Regions from separate parts of the Homo sapiens genome. Here region 1 is linked to region 2. Evidence: promoter capture Hi-C in human tissues and cell types (Jung and others, 2019). All regions are on one chromosome and are shown on one strand. Each heading gives the region's core, a stretch centred on a gene start or on the middle of the fragment in contact. The rest is flanking DNA. Distances are from core to core; before and after follow the strand shown.

Region 1 (4,941 bases), core at 1,079-3,578, 490 kb after region 2:
ATAAATAAGCAGAAAGGCAATAAACATTAGGGAGAATTATCTGTTAGGGAATTGGGGTGGGCAGCTGGGGAATGGAGTGGTGGTGGTGAATTCCCCCCTGCCCTCCGCCTCCTTCTCTGCTTTCATCCTGAGACCCTCATCAATTGTGGGGTGAGCAGCAGCAGCAACAGCAGCAGCAGCAGAGATTCCAGTGGCGCTGCCTTGGCAGGTGGTGGATTTGGGGAAGTGGAGAGGGTCTGGCGGCCTCCCTCAGTGGGACTCTTGGTTCTCAGACCTGGCTGGCAGAGCGAGGAGACCTGCCTCTCTCTGGCCTTTGGTGCCCACCTGTGAATCCCAGCCCCTGAGCTGTGTGATCATGGGTATGTGAATTCACCTCTCTGCACCTTGGTTTTCTCACCTGGAAAACTGGGAACACTTTCGGCAGGCGCTGAGTGAGATGCAGGGACAATGTCATCCATAGTCAGCGTGTTAATACACGTCAGCCATGGCTGTCCCACCGTGGAGGTTAACGAAGAAGCTGTCTGCCAGATGTCCAGCACCTAGTAGGCACACTGTAAGCAGCCAGTGTTACTATTCTGGGAGGTGGGTTAATCAGCTTTTGGGGGCCCTGCCCTCAAGTCTTGGGTCCTTCCCCTTCCTCACCATGCTTGTGTCCTGCTGTGGCCCTGGGAACATCTATTGTCACTTTCCCAATTCCCAGGCTCAGAGTTCAGTTGACTTCTACTGGACGTACTCCCTCCCCAGCGCCCCCCGCCACTGTTGGCCTCTCTGGGCTCTGTGGGCACACTGGGGTCTCCAGCGTCTCTTCTTGCGTAATTGCATTTGATTTTCGTAGTGTGTTAGTGACTTAGTTATCGGTTAACAGGAACCTCAAATAAATAACTCTCTGCCCCATCTGCTTGCTGGTAGGTGATGAGGAAGAAACAAATGTGAATTTGAAAAGTGATACATTTCCCCCAACATGATTTCTGTCTCCGGTCATAAATGTCAGATAAATGAATCTGTTTTGTGAAGAATTAGCATATTGGTTCAGGGAAGCATCTGCTGGGCTGTGAATCACGAAGCCTTGGAACACTCCCTGGCTCTCCCCTGCTTGCTGCGCGGTGCCTGCAGGCGCTGCCTCCCTGCTTGAGTACTGGGAGCCTTGGCAGAAGGGAATGGGGCAACCTCTGCCATCCAGCACTTCCCCTCTCCACCAAACCCAGGCCCTCCCAGGTGCTGTGCCTGTTGGTGCAGATGACTTTGGTCCCCCAGTGTGACCTTCCCCAGAACCCTGACCACAGCCACCCACCCCACCCCTGGCTTCAGAACAAGGCAAGGTGAAGCTGGCATTTTAGCTCCATGGTTCCTGGCTGTGTGACGTTGGGTGAATTGCTTCCACTCTCTGAGCCTCAGTTTTCTCAGCTATAAAGGGGAATAGTAATGCCCAGGACCAATGTATGCATTTTAGGCACAGGAAACACAGTTCCTAGGACCCAAGCTACTTTTAAGGGATGCGGTTGGCAGAATAATGGCCCGTGAAGAGGTCCGCATCTCAATCTCTGGAAACTGACAATGTTATGCCACATGGCAAATGGGAATGAAGGCTGTATGTGGAATTAAGGTTGCTGATTAGATGAGCTTAAATAGAGAGATTTTCCTGGGATGCCCAAAGTGATTACAAGGGTCCTAGAATGTGGAAGAGGGAGACGGAGACTGAGTATCACAGTAATGTCAGAATGTAATGTAATGTAAGTAATGTGTAAGAAGAGGGAGGTAAGAATGTGTGTAATGTAAAGAGGGAGGTAAGAATGTGTGTAATGTAAAGAGGGAGGTAAGAATGTGTGTAATGTAAGTAATGTGTAGGAAGAGGGAGGAAAGGTCCACAAGCCAAGGAATGTGGCAGGAAAAGGCAAGGAAGTGGATTCTCCCATAGAGCATCCTGAAAGGCATGCAGCCCTGCCAACACCTTGGTTTTAGCCTAGGGACACCCATTGCGGACTTCTCACCTCCAGAATTATGAAGTCATACATCTGCATTGTTTTAAGCCACTAAATTTATGGTAGCTTGTCATAGCAGCAAGAAGAAACTAATACAGGCTGGGTGCAGTGGCAAACAGCAGGACCTTGGGAGCCTGAGGCAGTAGGATCACTTGAGGCCAGGTCCAGCATGGGCAACATAGTGAGACCCCCATCTCTAAAAAAGCTTTAAACAATTAGCCCAACAGGATGGCATGTGCCTGTAGTCCCAGCTACTAGATAGGCTGAGGCAGGAGGATCACTTGAGCCCAGGAGTTCGAGGTTACAGTGAGCTATGATTGTGTCACTGCACTCCAGCCTGGGCAACATTGCGAGACTCTGTCTCTAAAAAACAAAAATATAAATAAAAACTGAAAAAAAAAAAAAGTGAATACAGGGACATACAAAAATATTCTAATTTATTTTAAAATCAGAAGAAAAAAATAAATATAAGCCAGGCTTAGTTGTATATGGGTTTATACCAAAAAGCATAAAGTATAATCTTTATTTTTTAATTTAATTTAATATTTTTGAGATGGAGTCTCTCTTTGTCTCCCACGCTGGAGTGCAGTGGTGTGGTCTCAGCTCGCTGCAACCTCCGCCTCCCAGGTTCAAGTGAGTCTCCTGCCTCAGCCTCCCCAGTAGATGGGATTATAGGTGCATGCTATCATGCCAAGCTAAGTTTTGTCTTTTTAGTAGAGATGGGTTTCACCATGTTAGCCAGGCTGGTCTTGAACTCCTGACCTCAAGTGATCCACCTGCCTGGGCTTCCTAAAGTGCTGGGATTACTGGTGTGAGCTACTGCGCTCAGCAGATAAAGTATAATCTTTGTTTTAGGGAGGAAGGGGCCCACGAAGGCAAAAGTGCCGAGGGCTCATGGTCCATGCAGCCATCATGCATCTTGCCTTGCAACCCGCAATGGGCTTAAAGGAGAGGGTGTTGGCAAGGCACCTGCTAGGATGCACGGATCACACACCAGGAGTCAGAAATGGGGGCAGCTGTTGTTTTGTGTTGTGGTCAGTTTCCCTTCCAAGTACTAAGGCTCCCCGTTGGGGGAATGCCTTGACCTAAAGCTTTGCACCCCACTGCTGGGACCCTTTATCTCCTGGCAGGACCTAACTGACCCAAAGGTCAGGTGGAGGGCCAACCCTGGCTTGCTGTGTGCCTACTGGGGGGGCCTTCCTCCTGGTCCCCCTTGCCTGCATCCATTGCTGAGTGTCCCACAATAACACAATTGGCTGAGCACCTACTCTGTTCTTGGACTGGAGGGTGGGAGCCTGAAATCTCATCCAGTGCTCCCTCTGGAATAGTAGCATCTTTGATTTTTCAAAGCCACACAGTGAGGCAGATACTGATCCACCATCCCACCAGAGTCTGTGTGACTCCATCCCACTCAGCAGGGCTCCTCTGTCTCCTGATGGCGAGAGTCACCTAGGAACTTGTAAAAACCACAGTGCTGCAGCCCCAGCCAGCCCCGCTGAACCTGAACCTCCTGGGAGGGGCCGCGAGGCTGCCATATGGTTACCAGGGCTCCAGGTGAGTTCTGTCCTCAGTAGGGAAGACCCTACTGCACCCTACTGCACAGGGTGCATGCTCACTTGCAACAAGGGAAGGGGACAAACAGAGAGCATGAACATGTGAACTTGGTATGTTCTATGTGCCAGGTGTGGGGCTGGGGAGGGCTACCTTGTGTTACCACGGCCATCTTTCTAGGTGAAAACAACCCCATTTTAGAGATGGGAAGACTGAGGCTCAGGGAGGCAGCATGAAAACGCTGAACCATGGAGGTTGAGGCAGGGTTAGGTGGAGTGCAGAGTCCTGGGGTTGCTGGAGCTGAACCAGGGCATGCGGCCACTCTGCAGGAGTGGTGGCTCGAGCCAGGGTATCCCCTGGCTCGGTTTCTCTTCCTGACCCTGACACTGATGCTTGGTGTAACTTTGAGTCCATCCTTTCTTCTCTGGACCACATTCCCTTGTATTATGAAGCCATTTGGCTTGGTGGTAAGATTTCCCACCTCCGGAACCTTGTACGTGCTGTTCCCTCCGCCTGCAATGCTCTTCTCCCCACTTCTTTTTAAAATGACTTTGACTGACAAATCATAATTATATACATTTATGGAGTACAGTGTGATGTTTTCATACATGTATACAATGTGAAATAATTAAATCAAGTGAATTAACATATCCCTCACTTCATTTGCCTTTTTTTTTTTTTTTTGTGGTGAGATGTTTGAAACTTACTGTCTTAATTATTGAAATACAGTCACAAGTCACCTAACGACAGGGTGACATTCTGAGAAGTGCATTGTTAGGTAATTTCATTGTTGTGTGAACATCATGGAGTGAACTCACACAAACCTAGATGATACAGCCTACTACACACTTAGGCTATATGGTAGAGCCTATTGCTCCTAGACTACAAACCTGTACAACATGCTTCTGTAGTGAATGGTAAGTATTTGTAAATCTAAACATATCTAAACATAGGAAAGGTACAGTAAAAATATGGTATAAAAGATAAAAAATAGTACACCTATATACAGCAGCTCCATTACAATCTTTTGGGACCCCCATCATATACGTGGTCCACTGCTGACCAAAATGTTGTTATTCACATGACCGTATATGACATATATGATTGACAAGAGCCACCCTGTTGTGCAGTAGATCTCAAAACTTATTCCTCCTCTCTCTGTGACACTTTGTATTTTTGATTTTTTTTTGAGATGGAGTTTCCCTCTTGTTGCCCAGGCTGGAGTGCAATGGTGTGATCTTGGCTCACTGCAACCTCCGCCTCGTGGGTTCAAGCAATTCTCCTGCCTCAACCTCCTGAGTAGCTGGGATTACAGGCGTGCACCACCACACCCAAATGATTTTTGGATTTTTAGTAGAGACGGGGTTTCACCATGTTGGCCAGGCTGGTCTTGAACTCCTGATCTCAGGTG
Region 2 (4,626 bases), core at 110-2,609:
GCATGACTAGCAAGAAGAGCTGGAGGCAGGGGACTCTGGCTCTGGGGGAAGCACCCAAAAGGTGGCTCAGAGCAGGTGCTGGGAGAAGATGATCCCTATGGGTCCTGTCCATCTGCCCCATGTCTGCCTGTCTCTCCCTCTCTGCTTGTCTATATCATCTTTTTCTGAATGTCTCTTTCCAGCTCTTGCATACCCAGATCTGGGGGTTCTCTTCCAAAATATGCTCCTTTGTTCTTGGGGCCCCAGAGGGAGCCAAAGACTCCACAGCACCCTCCCTCTGGTCTACTGCAACTTTCTGGCTTCCCAGACTGTGGTCCCCCACCCAACCTCACAAAGTGACTGCCTCTCCGCAGAGGAGTGGGGCTGGGGGATGTTCCTCCCATCATTACTTTTTCTTCTCCGCACCCCACCTGTCTTGCACTGGCTCCCCAGGGAAATAGGGAACCCCTTACCCCACACCCCCACCCCTGCTTGGTAAGAAATGGCCCCAAAGGGAATTGACTGCCCCAGACCCACACTCCAGCCGTCTGGCTCTCACCTTCTGCCTCTTCTCCCTTTCTCTGAGTCCTAAGGAAACTGAGGCAGGATGAAGGAGCTCTCTTCCGCGTCAGCCCAGGAGGCTGGTGTGGGCCACGGGCTCCCACGACTCACACCCGGACGTGCGCAAACACCCTGCTCGGTGTAGACACCCAGACACATGCTTGCGCCCCCAAGTGCCCCCTTCCCTCACGTACCGGCCGAGAAGGCAGCTCGGCCACTTCTGCGGGGAAATTCTCTCCGGGGGACACTGCGCCCTTGCCACGCGGAGCCCCGCTCCCCCGAGGTCCCCGCTCACTTGCCGTGCGCGCTCCCCGCAGACACCCGCGCACAGCGCTCCGCGGCGCCCGCCCCCCGCTGCCCTGGGCCACCCCCACGCGCTGCGCACGCCCGGGGCGAGTGAGTGAGAGTCTGGGCCTGGGTCTGAGCGGGCTGGGCAATCAGGGGCTTCGCGGAGGAGGCGGCAGGACACAGCCGCCAGGTCGCTTGCTGGCGGCGGGGCCACCCGGGGCGCAGCGCGGACTTTGCGTCTGGCGCGGGGGACCAAGGCTTGGGCCAAGTTCGGGGGCCGGGATGGGAAGAGGGGTCCCGCCCAGCCTGGAGTGTGGGAGCTTTCCGGTCTGGGAAACCAGCTGGGCAAGAGGGTTGGGGCGAGTGCAGTTGGGTCGGGGGTCCGAGCCAGAGGCGGTGGGGGAGGTCTGTGCCTACCGTCGTCCTGGCCGTAGCCCCAGCCGTGGTGGCCGGTCATGCCGCTGCCGTCCCCGCAGCCGTGCACCTGCCCGGTCGGCTCGGTCCGCTCGTTCGGGCTGCGGCTCCGGCCCCGCTCGCTACCGCGGAGCAGCCTCTTAAAGCAGCGGCTGGCGGGAGGAGCAGTTCCCGGGGGACCCGCCCCCCACCCCCCAGCAGGGCCAGAGAGGCCGGCCTGCCCCGCCCTCGCCCGCCGGCGAGCCAGTTGAACCCCGAGCGGAGATTCAGGGCAGGAGGAAGTAACCCTCTCCCCCCAACTCCCACCCCTGCCCTGGCTGGGCGACTATCCCTCTTTTTCCCCCAGCAACCCGTGCGGACTCTGGGACACTAGATGCCCGTGCCGCACATGGCGTCCCTTCCCTAGGCTTGCCCCAGACCTGCAAATGCCACCACCAGAGACCTGAGCTCTGGGTCCTGAATCTTTTGGGGTTGGAAAGTCCCCTTTAAACTGCAAACTACACTGACCATCAAGTGTCCAAAACTGGAGCTTCCACTGTTTGCCAGAGGCTGTTGCAGGCGCTGGACCAAGCTTTGGGTCCTTCCTATGGTATAACCCTCTCTGTTACCCTACAAGGTTGGGTGCTTCCATCAGCCCTATCTGACAGAGGAGGGGAGTGAGGCCCAGAGAAGTGAAGTGACTTGCCCAAGGTCATCTAGCCAGGGGGTAAAGGGTTCATTAGCTGGGGTTCTTACTCCAGACACTGGGGGTTTTGTGGGATTTGTTTGTTTGTTTGTTTGTTTGCTTGTTTGTTTTTAGACAGAGTCTTGCTCTGTCACCCAGGCTGGTGCTATATCAGCTCACTGCAACCTCCACCTCCTTGATTCAAGTGATTCTTCTGCTTCAGCCTTCCAAGTAGCTGGGATTACAGGTGTGTGCCACCACATCCAGCTAATTTTTGTGTTTTTTGTAGAGATGGGGGTTTCACCATGTTGCCTGGGCTGGTCTTGAACTTCTGGCCTCAAGTAATCCACCCGCCTTGGCCTCCCAAAGTGTTGGGATTAGAGGAGTGAGCCACCACTCCTGGCCTGACACTGGGGTCTTTACCATTTCTCCTTGGTGCTGGGTACAAGGGTGTGCTGTGAGTGTGGGGGTCCGGGAACCCTGGGGTAGATGCAGGGACAGGAATGGCAATGTGAACCCTTGGCCCAGGTGGAACCAGATCCCCCAAGGGGGAGTGAGAAGGAGTGGCATCAACCAATGGGCCTGAAGACAGGCAGACACCAGGTGGCTTCCCCATGGAGCTAAGTCTGAGGCTCTGACTTCCACCCTCCCTGTTATTTTGTCTACTGCTTCCTCCTTTCTTCAGGGACTCTGCTTTGTCCCTCCATAGCCTGCTGTTTGTCCCTCCTCTCCTGACCTCCCCATAACCTTCAGTACACCCCCTGGGAGCTCAGACCCTCCACCCTGCACTCAACCCCAGTGCCTGCCTTGGCCCAGTATTTTCCCACCCACGAGCCCTGGTCGTTGTTGTGCCCTCCACCTGGTGCGTCCTCTGTCTTCCACCCACTGGCTCCAGCCGGCCCAATCTGATTCATCTTAGCACGTGGCCTTGTGCCAGGGAGAGGGCTTGTCTCTGGCTAGTCCTCAGCAGGCAGTTTTGGAAAGACAAACAGAGGGGTGGATGGAAGGACAGATAAATGATCCCACCCGGGGTCCTGTACTCAGCAGGAGTCGAACAGCCACTAGTACAATGTCTGCTGTCCAGATCTTGAATAGAGACACTCTTTCAGGCCCTGCTCTTGGCTGACCTTGTACAGGAATCTGCCATCTTGTCTGCCTGGCTCCCCTTCATCTCTGTGTCTGTCTCAGTTTCCCTCTCCCAGGCCCTGAACCCCAGATCCTCAGATAGAGCTATGGAGATTAATTGATAACTGGTTGGGTGGGCCAATGTCAGTGACTGCCCAGGCCTGCGAAGATGGCCCTCTCTGATCCAGGAGCAGGAAGGGATCCTTAATATAAATATGACCCTAGGGTGGGGCAGGGGACTTATGACAGAGATAAGTAGCCCCCAAGACCAGATGTGACAGAGAATCCAACACTGTCAAGGCCCCAGGTCTCCAAGCTGGAAATGGCATCTACAGATCAAGAAGACAAAGGCATGCTTCTGGGTGAGGCCTGGACCTTCTGTCTCCCAGAGAAGCCAGCCACCCTTTACCTGGGAGAGCTGCCAACATCCTTTACCTGGGAGAGAGCTCTGGGGATAGCCCAAACTCCATTGACCCATTTCCTCTTCAGAGGGACTCAGGTCTTTTTCATATTTATTTGTAGTTCTTAAAAGATACAACTGGGCCTGGCACAGTAGCTCATGCCTGTAATCCCAGCACTTTGGGAGGCTGAGGCGGGCGGATTACCTGAGCTCAGAAGTTGAAGACCATCCTGGGCAACATGGTGACATCCCGTCTCCACTAAAATACAAAAAATTAGCCAGGCATGGTGGCAGGTGCCTGTAGTCCCAGCTACTCGGGAGGCTGAGGCATGAGAATTGCTTGAGTCCAGGAGGCGGAGGTTGCAGCGAGCCAAGATTGCACCACTGCACTCCAGCTTGGGCTACAGAGTGAGATTCTGTGTCAAAAAAAAAAAAGATACAATTGGAATTCTTCATATAGTTTTGCATCCAACTTCATCTACATAGTAACCCTGGGGGGATTTTTACCCCATTTTACAGATGAGAAAAGCAAAGCTCAAGAGAGGATGAGTGATGGGCTCGAAGATGCACAGTGAGTGACTGAACAAAGATGAAAACCCAGGGCTGCTGGGTCCCTCGTTCAATATTGTCCAAAATCACTGGAAAGGGAGGAAGCGGATTTTAAATTTGACTCTCATTTGTGTGTGTATGCAAGTCCTCTCTAAAAGGACTTAGGAGAAGCTAGGGAGAGTGTTTACCTACAGGGAGGAGACTGGACACCGGAAGGTTGTGGAAGGTTGTGGAAGGGTGTGGTATGGCGTGGGAAGGACACTCTTTACTGGTACTCCTTTGTATCTCTTGAATGAATTAAGGCATGTATTACCTCTTTAACAACCAAATAAAAGTTGATCCAGTTCTTTCCTTCCTGCAGCCTGTCTTCAGCATTTTCTCTGGGTACTGGGAACTCAGGAAAGTGAGAGGAGACAATGGAGACTGCCCTTCTAAGGTGAAGCGCCAGCTGCCCCAGCAACCCACTCAGGTCAACTTGGGGGAGCCTGTGCCTCCATTCAGGTGCCTCCAGTCTCAATTACATGCTGTTTTTAAAGCCGAGTTGATTTCTCTGCTTGAGAGTTTTCTCTTTGGTCTCACTGGTGTCAGTGGCTCCTGGTTTTTGCTATTTATATGGGAGGGGAAAATGGGGGATGTGAGGGCTGTG

What was found. The method cuts DNA at HindIII sites, captures the fragments that hold promoters and counts their contacts. A contact is called where the count stands out against the background at its distance.
Region 1: a fragment that was not itself captured here is called in contact with the fragment with the promoter of CA7 in region 2 in 2 of the 25 tissues and cell types used here (lymphoblastoid cells and spleen).

What each region holds. Positions count from the first base shown.
Region 1 is chr16:66,349,384-66,354,324 of GRCh38, reverse strand. No RefSeq gene overlaps it. Among named protein-coding and RNA genes, the nearest start is that of CDH5, 15 kb to the left of the region's middle. The HindIII fragment of the contact is 4,941 bases long and covers 1-4,798 here.
Region 2 is chr16:66,841,147-66,845,772 of GRCh38, reverse strand. It overlaps CA7 (carbonic anhydrase 7), which reads right to left and starts at 1,359. Exons shown (of 7, transcript NM_005182.3): 1 at 1,246-1,359. The coding sequence starts at 1,285. It overlaps LOC124903699 (a long non-coding RNA gene), which reads left to right. Exons shown (of 4, transcript XR_007065088.1): 4 at 3,951-4,340. RefSeq lists an enhancer at 930-1,431. The HindIII fragment of the contact is 13,624 bases long and covers 1-4,626 here.